Regions from separate parts of the Homo sapiens genome. Here region 2 is linked to region 1. The links are contacts of gene promoters, found by promoter capture Hi-C in human tissues and cell types (Jung and others, 2019). All regions are on one chromosome and are shown on one strand. The core of a region is centred on a gene start or on the middle of the fragment in contact, and the rest is flanking DNA. Distances in the headings are between cores, read along the strand shown. Region 1 holds the start of SLCO1C1 (solute carrier organic anion transporter family member 1C1). Region 2 has its middle 150 kb from the start of LINC02398.

The links. Contacts are between HindIII fragments. The study calls those that stand out against the background at their distance.
Region 2: a fragment that was not itself captured here is called in contact with the fragment with the promoter of SLCO1C1 in region 1 in 4 of the 25 tissues and cell types used here (H1 embryonic stem cells, dorsolateral prefrontal cortex, liver and 1 more).

What each region holds. Positions count from the first base shown.
Region 1 is chr12:20,693,258-20,698,404 of GRCh38, forward strand. It overlaps SLCO1C1 (solute carrier organic anion transporter family member 1C1), which reads left to right and starts at 2,075. Exons shown (of 15, transcript NM_017435.5): 1 at 2,075-2,550. The HindIII fragment of the contact is 14,433 bases long and covers 1-5,147 here.
Region 2 is chr12:19,857,280-19,862,185 of GRCh38, forward strand. No RefSeq gene overlaps it. Among named protein-coding and RNA genes, the nearest start is that of LINC02398, 150 kb to the right of the region's middle. The HindIII fragment of the contact is 4,180 bases long and covers 1-3,696 here.

The sequences.
Region 1 (5,147 bases), core at 825-3,324:
TGAGTTTAGTGGTTATAAATATAAAATAAGCCCTAAGGGCATGTTACTGAGTTGTTCTTCAATCACTTAAAACAGTGCGGATGCAAATACTAAGAAGAAAGAAAGTGGATTTATCTGAGGTGAGCTTTGCCTGGGAAGATCAATAAATTGAAAGAGAAACAGGAGAATTGAGGGTATACAGAAGGAAGTGATTAAAATAATTGCATGAAAAAATTCAAGTAAGGAGGAAAATGAAAATATGAGTGTACTGGCTTGAATTGTGTCTCCCAAAAAGATATGAGGAAGTCCTAACCCCCGGTACCTGTGAATGTCACCTTTCCTGAAAAGAGAGTCTTAGCAGACCTTATCAAGTTAAGATGAGGTCATGAGGGTGGTCCCCAGCCAAAGATGACTAGCGTTTTTTTAAGTACAGAGGACAGAGACATAAAGGGAGAAGATGGCCATGTGGTAACAGAAGCAGCTGTTGGAGTGATACACCTATAAAACAAGGAGTTCAGGCTGTCAGCAAACACCAGGAGGTGGAAGAGGTAAGGAGGATTCTTCCCTACAGGTCTCAGAGGGAGCATGGCTCTGCTGACACCTTGATTTTTGACTTCTGGCCTCCAAAAGTGTGAGACAATAAAGTTCTGTTTTAGGTCACTCAGCTTGTAGTACTTTGTTAGTGCAGTCTTAGGAAATGCATTCATTTATATGTTGTCTGTGGTTAATTTACCACCAGAATGGCAGAGGTGAGTGGTTGTGATAGAGATTGCATGGTCCTACAAAACCTAAAATATTTCTTATTTGTCCCTTTATAGAAGTTTGTTAACTCCCTCATCTAGAGTTTGGAAATGGGAATGAAAGGCTGAAGTAGGCTACAATCCAATGCAAGGTTGCACATAAGAAGCTCTGAATAAGTGTAAACATTATGTGCATTCAAAACAGTAACATTAACTGTGGACTCTGGAAATAAGAAAAGGAATCGTGTTGGAGAGTGAGACTGAGCCAGTTGGGAATAGACAAAATTACATTCTCAAGGGAGAATTTCATTTCTTGGTGAGGAAAATTATGCCCTTTGGGCTGGTAAATACTGTCTCCTCTTGAATAAAACAGTGGTCTGGCCACCTGTTAGACACTGAGAAGTCTAGACTAACACTCAATGTATTCGGATGTTTGCTCACTATTTCCGATGGAAAAGTCTGGTTTGATTGTTAAAGTAAAATATTTGGCCTTTCAGAGTGTGAAAACACCATTGCTTCATTGCAAGGTTTAATATAAACCCATTTTTCTTGCATTTTCTTTTCTTTCTTTTGTAGTAAAATGTGCTTGAATAATATTAACTATTCTGACCATTATGTGAACTAAATATATATATATATAAAATGATGATACCTTCCGCTCATTTGCAATGTGCTTTTGAATACATTATATAATTTAATCCTTAAAACAGCCCTATAAATCTGTTTTTTTTTTTTTTAAACAAAAAAATTCTGCTTTACAAAGGAAGAAGTTGAGACTCAGTAAAATTAAGTGACCATCCCAGAGTCTCAGCCACTTAAGAGTAGGGTGAATCTTGGATAATTCTGGTAGCAAATTTATTTATTGGTAGAAAATAAATGCAAACTACTACTGCTTAAGATCCTCTAAAGTTTTTCTCTTGGAAAAAGAATGTATTAGAATTGTGGACTTTCTCAGTGCAAGGATTTATTTATCCTTGGAATTAGGCAGAATAAACAATTGAATGCCAAAAATTCAACGTGTTTCTTTTCTGTTTTCAAAACTCATAGAAATTGTAAATATGAGCAACTGATCATGTCTCTGAGAATTAACTCTTTTTGTACAGAGCGCTGCAGAGCTTTGATTGTGACCTGATACTTGGTCCTTAAAGATTCTAGAACACCAATGGAAAAGAAAACCATGTAGCAAATTAGCCCAAGAACCGTTAAAGACAAAACAAAACAAACCAAAACCAAAACACACAAACAAAGAAAACACAAGGATCCCAGTGATGTCCCTAAGGAATAGTTGGCTTAAAAACTTTCTGGAAGGAGGAGGGGTCTCTGTTATAAACTTCCGCCCTCCTCTGGCTTCTGTTCCTTACCCTCTGCCCCCTGCGGAGTTGTGTTTTCTGGGAATCAGCAAGTAAGATCACAAGTGGTCTTTTCTTTTATTCACTCTCTCCCATAAAGAAAGCTTTATCACGTGTGGCCTTAAACTTGCAGCAAATTGCAAAGAAATGGCTCAAAAGCTTCAGCTCTTTCTGTGCCCTGGGAGCTGAGATGCACGTCAGTGGCCTTGCCAGCGTGGCCAATTCTCTGCTGACTGCCAGAAAAAAGAGGCCAGGAAGAAAGAGGAAAGAGAAGAGATCGCTCAGGGGTGAGACCATGCCCTTCATCTTTTCTTTTCCCTAATCTCCTCTGCTTGTGTCCACCCACACTCTCCCCACCTGGCAAAATTGTTCAAAATTGCTGTGGAGTTTACCTCAGTTTCCTCTTTCAGTCTGTGGTGTGTGGTCCATCCTCTTGCTGAGCACATTGAAAGGAACTGGCTATCTTTGATCTCTTCCTCCAGGTAAGACTTGGTTCTCTCATTTTATATTTTGTGACTAATACATCAGATTCTTATGGGAGATTAACCCTTAATTTCTGTGCGATTTATGTTTTATCCATAAAAATATCAGTGAAAGGTGATGATCCCCTCATTAGTTTGATGGAAATAAGAGAGAAGATTGGTTAAAGAAATCAGATAAACTCAAATTTGAGTTCAAATTTTGAGTCTCATGCTTATAAATTGTTTAGCTTTTGACAAGTCACTTAATTGCTTTGGGCCATCTAATTTAAAAAATGGAATTCTAATATTACGTTTGTTGGGTTGTTTTAAGGATTAGAAAAAGTACGTACATTACTCAACACAAAAATAGTACTTATTAAATCTGAATCTGACACAGATAATTTGTATTAGGTGAGAAATTAGTTTCTAAACAACACACACTCCTCTGCAGCAAGTGCCGTGAGGCTATTTTTTAGTTTGTCTGAAGGGAGGCATCCTGGTGTCCAGAAGTCAAGCCAGGACAGAGGTTTTCCTCACAGGAGATGGCCAAGAGAAGAGAGGGAGGAGCGTGGTTGCCTTTAGGACTTTCTCTGTGGCAGTCCTTGGGGACTGATTGCTGGACAGAGTCCGAGTCAGTTGCAGAGCAGAGGGGTTGAGTACATCTGCGGGATCTAACTACAACCTTCCTAAGCCACTTGCTCTCTCCATTTAAAATCTGGAGGGCTGATTTTGAAACTAATGAGGACTGATTATTCAATGTTTTTGAACCAAAGGAAGAGAAACTGCTTGGCTTGTTTTTCTTTGGCCTCCAGAATAAGTTATGCTCCAAACCCAGGGTATTGGATGAAAACTGTCGTATGTCTTTTCCTGGAAGAATCTATTCAAGTGGCCAGAGATCAATTAAGGATTTGCCAAATGCAAATAATTCTGAATAACTGTGTACTCTTGCTCTACTTCTGCAGTTGCAAATGAAGAGAGAGAGCCTGCAGGCCCCAAGGATCTTTCCGTTCATGTCATTGAGCTTCCTTCCCTCTCTTTTTACAGGGGATGAACTGTAGCCTCCTTGGAACATACTACACTTGCAATAATTTGCGCATTAACCATCAAGACACTTCAGTAAAGCTATGCAGTGCCAATAGTTTAAGCTGGATCCTATTTTGCCCTAACACAAAGTGAACTGAGATGACTATATTTATATTTCATTATACTTTTGAATTTTAGTTACAGTGATTTTTGTGTCAACACCTCCATATATTAGATAACTTAAAATGTGCTATAGTATCTCAAGTTTTTCAGTAGTGTTTTTAACATAATTATTTTTTCTCTTTGACATTAGCATTCTAGATGTAACACTTTGGATCTTTTAAAGATAAATTTAGGATAAATGATAGCAGATTTTATTATTAAACAATTTATTTGTATTTTCTGGTCACTGACTTTAATATTATGACTGATGAGAAATAATATGATATCTGAATCCCCAAAAACAGAAGGCCAATTTGAATTATATAATTTAATCCTTTGAAGAATATTGCAATTTAAGCCAGAAATTTAATAATTATCCGTTTCTTATTTTAAAACCTTTCTGGTTTGTATATCTCTTGCTTGGCAATATTTTTACTCATAGTTTTGTAGTAAAGATACCTATTTAACATTGTATAACTCTGCATTTCCCAAACCCTGTTTTCCTTGTCCTGGCAAAATACTGTTCTAGAAAAGTAGTCCTAGTGACTCAGTAGATATAGGAAGTTGGCTGTTGGTATCAGATACTGTTAAGGAAGAATCTCTATATTCTTCATTTCTTAAACTTTGTTTTTTAAATCAGTAATAGATGTCGAATTTTATCAACTGATGTTTTTCATGTAATGAAATTCTATTTTTTATTTTGAATTATTCATGTGGTAATTTAGGTGAATAAATTTCCTGTAATTAACCAATTGTTGCATCTTTTAGAATAATTCTAATCATAGAGCAAGAGTTAATTTGGATTTGCTAGCATTTACTTAGAATTTTTATAATCTATGGGCTTGATCTGAAGTTTTCCTTTCTGTGCTATCTTTGTGCTGTTTTGTTACCAAGATAATGTTATTTTTGTCAAACTAATGGAGACAATGATTATCTGTTTCCATTATCGGCTATCTTTCCTCAAAGAATATCCCTTGATAAAGCACTTCTGGTGCATCATCTATCCTTAGTATCTTTGTTTAGGGAATAGTTTCAGAGTATTTTTGATAATGTCTTTCTTGGCTATTTTCTCTTCTGGTTTTTATCAATATAGGTAATGAATATTTGCTAGAAACTTATCCATTAAGTCAAGATATTAAACTTACTTCAACATTCGATGCATCTTTTTATGTTTTATACTCCTAAATATCTGTGTTTTATCTCATTAATATTATGTATTTATATCTTTGTTTTTTGTCTTGATTAACATTATTAGCTCTTTGTTTTGCTTATTTTTTGTTTTTAAATTTTTCTCTTTCACTCACTCTTCTTTTTCAATTAAAAAATTAAAGTTATGAATGCTTATAAAATGAATCCAAAAGCCTAATAATAATTTTTTTGAAACCAGACCCTTGTCTCATCCTTTCCTTTAGTCAATTCCCACTCCCTAGAGG
Region 2 (4,906 bases), core at 357-2,856, 840 kb before region 1:
TTAAAGTATAAGAATAATAAAAAAAATAAAAAAATTTAAAAATAAATAAATAAATAAATAAAATGCAATGATGATATGTCACAGTTACTGAGTGGCTTGTAGATGTTGCTTAACTTCATGGCACCAACCCAGACAAGTTTATTCCTTCAGAATAGCGCCGTCAAACCATTAAAACCTGGGTGCTTATGAGCAGAAGAGAGTGCATGAAGCAAAACGCCCAAGTTATTTTTCCAGAAATTACATTTAGTAAATCAAAGGCGGTGCCTTGGAATCTGCATTTTTGCAAGCTTGCTACGTCATTCTGCTGAGGTGGTTCTTAGCCAACACTGTTCCCTATTGCTCTGGGGATTTTAAAGGATGCAGACTGGCAGATCAGCTCAGAGCCCAGTTTGAAGCCCGTTCTACCAACTGAAGTAAGACAAGTGAATAATGCCATGCAGGCATGGCATTATCAAATGCCTGAATATCAAAGGTATGCACCTTAATATCAAAGGGACAGAGAGAATAAAGTGTGGCCAGTGTCAGGTGGGATAGATTAGAAATTTTTTTTCTTTCTAAAAGCTATTCAGGGGGGAATAATGGCCTGCTAAAATGAAAATTAGATTGTTGAGAGCCATGCCATGAAGTATTTTAAGGGGGACAATTATTTAGATTTTCAGTAGAGAATAGTAAAAGGAGCTATAAATGTTTTTTAAAAGAATAGGATATAAAACTGTACATTTGTGAAAAGGGTACCATTTTACAGTTGGGAAAGGCCTTAAGCCCTATTCTTCAGAGATGTTAAAAATATTAGAATGGGGGACTGGCCCTTCTGAAAGAAAGAGGACTTTTTTTTGAAAATAAAATCTATACTATTTATTATTATTTCTGTGGATCACCACCACAATATATACATTTCTTTGGCCACTGGCTGAATTTTGTTGTATCCTCCTTAGACTTCGAGTTTAATCTTTCTCCTGGATTATGTACCTGAAGAGCCTTAAAAAGTCACTCAGGACAAGAATGCTCATGTCAGTGAACCATAGAGTCTAAATTTCTTGATTGCCTAGAGGTAAAAAAGAGGGCAAAGGAACCTTGGATTTATTTAAATTCGAAATGTACTTTTGCATAAAAAATAACTTTCCAACCAACATTTCTTGTAGTCTGTTTGTAGTCACATGCAGTAAACTCCTCTGGGATAGAAATTTTTAATAAAGATTCCTTTGTTGCAATACTTTTATGTTCAGGAACACCCTTATGAAAAGCCAGTTTTTTAAAGGGGCATAGAAACTTGTAATAAAAATGCTACTGAATTCTAGGAACCTACTTCTTCCAATAATCCCCATATTCCCTGTTTATCATCACCCTCATTAATCAACAGAATAGTCCAGTGAGACTGGTTGTTTTTTAGTAGAATAATTGTAATTTGTAAAGGGTCAGAAGGGATATGAATATAAAAAGATTATAGAAAGTTTCTTCAGCTCTACTGTCTTAATCCCTAAATAACCTTGAAGGGCACTAAGGCAGTACACTAGGAAGAATAATTGTCAAGCTGAGATATCAGATCCCAACTTCTGGAACCTGCAAATGTTACCTTATAAAGTAAAGGAGTTATTGTAGAGGTGATTCAGCTAAAGATCTTGAGATGGGGATATTGTCCTGGTAACTGGATGTACCCTAATTCCAATTACAAGTGTCTTTATAAGAGAGAGGCAGAGGGAGATTTGCTACACAAAGAGGAGGCAATGGGACCACAGAGGCAGAGACTGGCGTCATGTGGCCACAAGTCAAGGAATGCTGGCAACCACTAGAAACTGGAAGGGAAAGGAACAATTTTTACTTGGAGCCTTTGCAGAGAACATGGCCCTGTGGTCACCTTGATTTTCACTCTGTGAAACTGATTTCAGACTTCTCGTCTCCTGAATTGTGAGAGAATACATATCTGTTGTTTTGAGACTTCACGTTTGTGTTAATTTGTTATAGCAGCCCAAGGCAACTAATTCAGGCAGTGAATTCTTCCCAAGCACCCTTCTTTTGACTTGTAACCTGGTTTGCAGCACAACAGTCATCTGAGAAACTTCTTAACAATTTTGAATTCCTGTGGCTCATCACAGGTATACAGAGAATCAGAATTTTTAGGAATAGGATCCAAGGATCTGTATTTTTTTCACAGACTGCCTAGGTGAGATTCTGCTGTGCACCAGGTTTGATAACCATTTCACTAGGATGCTCTATTAGTTTCCTATATCTGCTATAAAAAAAATCACCACAAATGTAATGGCTTAAAACAACACGAGTTTACTCTTAGGCATTTCTGGAGGTCAGAAGTTCAAAATTACTTTCACTGGGATAACATCAAGGTGTCAGCAGGGCTGATTACTTCTGGATGTTCTGAAGGGAAGATCTGTTTTCTTGCCCTTTTCGCTTCTAATGGCTGCTTATACTCCTTGGTTTGTGGCCTCTTTTTGCCATCTTCAAAGCACATCGCTCCAGTTTCTGTTCTGTCATCACATCACCCTCTGACTCTCACTTCTGTGAACCTCTTATGAGGACCACTGTGATCACGTTAAGCCCACCTAGGTCCTCCAGGATAATCTTCTCATTTTAAGATCCTTATCTTGATCACATCTGCAAAGTCCATTTTGCCATATGAAATGACGTTTTCAGGTGCCTGGAATTAGGATGTGAATATATTTGGGGAGCTATTATTATTCAGTTCACCACAGACCCCATGATAACACCTCATGTAGAAACCATAGATGTAAATGAGCTTCAATAACAGGGGGTCATGCTTAATTCATGATGTATTCACCTGCCTTTTTTGTGCTTATTTTTTTTAAAAGGCATTGGAATAAAAACATTTACATATGACTATTATCTTTGATACTTTAGTGGCAGATAACAAAACATGCAAAGCTGCTGATTTCATGAAAGTATTATTATTACAACATTACAAATTGTTTTATTTGATTTTATTTTTGCCTTTGCTTGAAACTCTCTCATGAACAAATTAATTTAAACGTTGAGAAAAGGGGAGTGGCCAGAAGGGAAGCTTTTCACATTCCAAATTGTCATCATTCAAATAAATACATGTTCTAAGTAAAAGCACAATTCTTGGTCTGCAAATGTAGGTTTAGGCCATACCAAACAAAAATTCACATAAATAAAAACTGAGCATTACTATGCAAATGTAATCATAAGACAAGCCCTCAAGGGCCCCTTTTCTAACAGTTTACCCCCTCTAAGCACTTCTTTATAAAACTTCTCAGGCTGTACTTTCTGTATCTTTTATTTAATATAGAATACCATAGTTGAAGTAAGTGGTAATAGACACCACAGAACATGTAAATGTAATTTCTTTACGTTTTATGTTGATTCTGTAGTGATGTCTCCTTTTCTCATAACTCATAGTAATAACTTGTGCTTTTTTAAAATTAATCTTACAAAGCTATACATTTTTAATAGCTGCATCCCACAAATTCTGATATGTCTTATTATCATTTAGTTGAAAGTATTATTTATATAAATTGCTTTTTTGTTGACCCATGGATTATTTAAAAGTATATTGTTTATTTCAACCCCTATATACAATATATATCCTTAATATTTTAGAGACCTTAAATTAGTATATTTTTCATTTCCAAAATAATCCTGAAATTATAGCACATATTATTTCATTTACCGTCACCTTTCTTCTTTTGTGCTATAATGGCCATATATTTTAATGAAATTTTTTTTTTCCTGGGTATAGAGTAAGAGCTTGATGATGATTTTCTTTTAGCACTTTACAAATGTTAATATGTTGCCTTCTGACCTTCATCATTTTTACTGAAAATGATTCATCAGCCCTGGTGCTATTAATATTTCTTTAAAAGGAGTGTGTCTTTTTCCTTTGGCCACTTTTAAGAATTTTCTTTGTTGGATGTGCCTAGGTATGCTTTTCTTTATATTTGAACTGCTTGAATCTCATAATATGTTTTGAATTCATATTCTGAAGATTTTCATCAGCTTTCCAAAACTGTTATTTAGGACCTCTTTAGAGATTGCTTTTGGTCTAGTCTCTCATTCTTTTTCTGAGATTCTAATTGCGTACATTTTAGGTCTTTTCACTTGGTTTCATATGTTTCTTGTGGTTTTTTTTTCTGTATTTTTCATCCTCTTTTCTCTATATATTTTAATCTTGATATTTTCTACCCATCTATGTTCACTATTCTTTTTCTCTGCTTTGTCTAATTCGCTGTTACATTCATCTATCCCATTCTTAGTTTGGGCTATTTTCTAGAATTAAAATTTATCTTTAAAAAAATAAACTCTAGTTCTTTGGTCAAATTCTCTATCTTTGTTCGTATTTTCGTGAGCATATTAATTATTGATATTTTAAGCTTTTTCTTAATAATGTCACTATCTGGGTTACCTTTATATTGTCAACCCACTCACCCCAATTTTTAGTCTCATGATTCTGTTTTCTGGCTTCTTGGTAATTGTTAAATGAATGCTGGACATTTGTATAAATATTTCTAGAAGCTCTGGCTTATGCTTTATTCTTTCAGAGAGATTTTAATTTTCTTCTAGAAGGTAGTTGAAGCACGGGAAAATCACCTTGATCCAATTGAGTCCCAGTTTCAGTTTCACCTTTATCCAAGAGTTTAGTCCTTCAGTGGTATCAGCAGAAAGCCTGAGGTTTTTATCAGTGCCCTTCTTTATAGACAGACCCTATAACCCAAATTAATTTTTCCCCAGACTGCCAAAATATCTACTTTTTAACAATTTAGCAGTTTCTTTCTGATTGTTTCTTCAGCAACTTGCACTATACCATTAAGGAGTCAGCAAATAGCCAGATGCAGTGGTGCACTCCTGTAGTCCCAGCTCTCAGGAGGCTGAGGCAGGAGGAGCCCTTGAGCCCAGGAGTTTAAGGCCAGACTGGGAA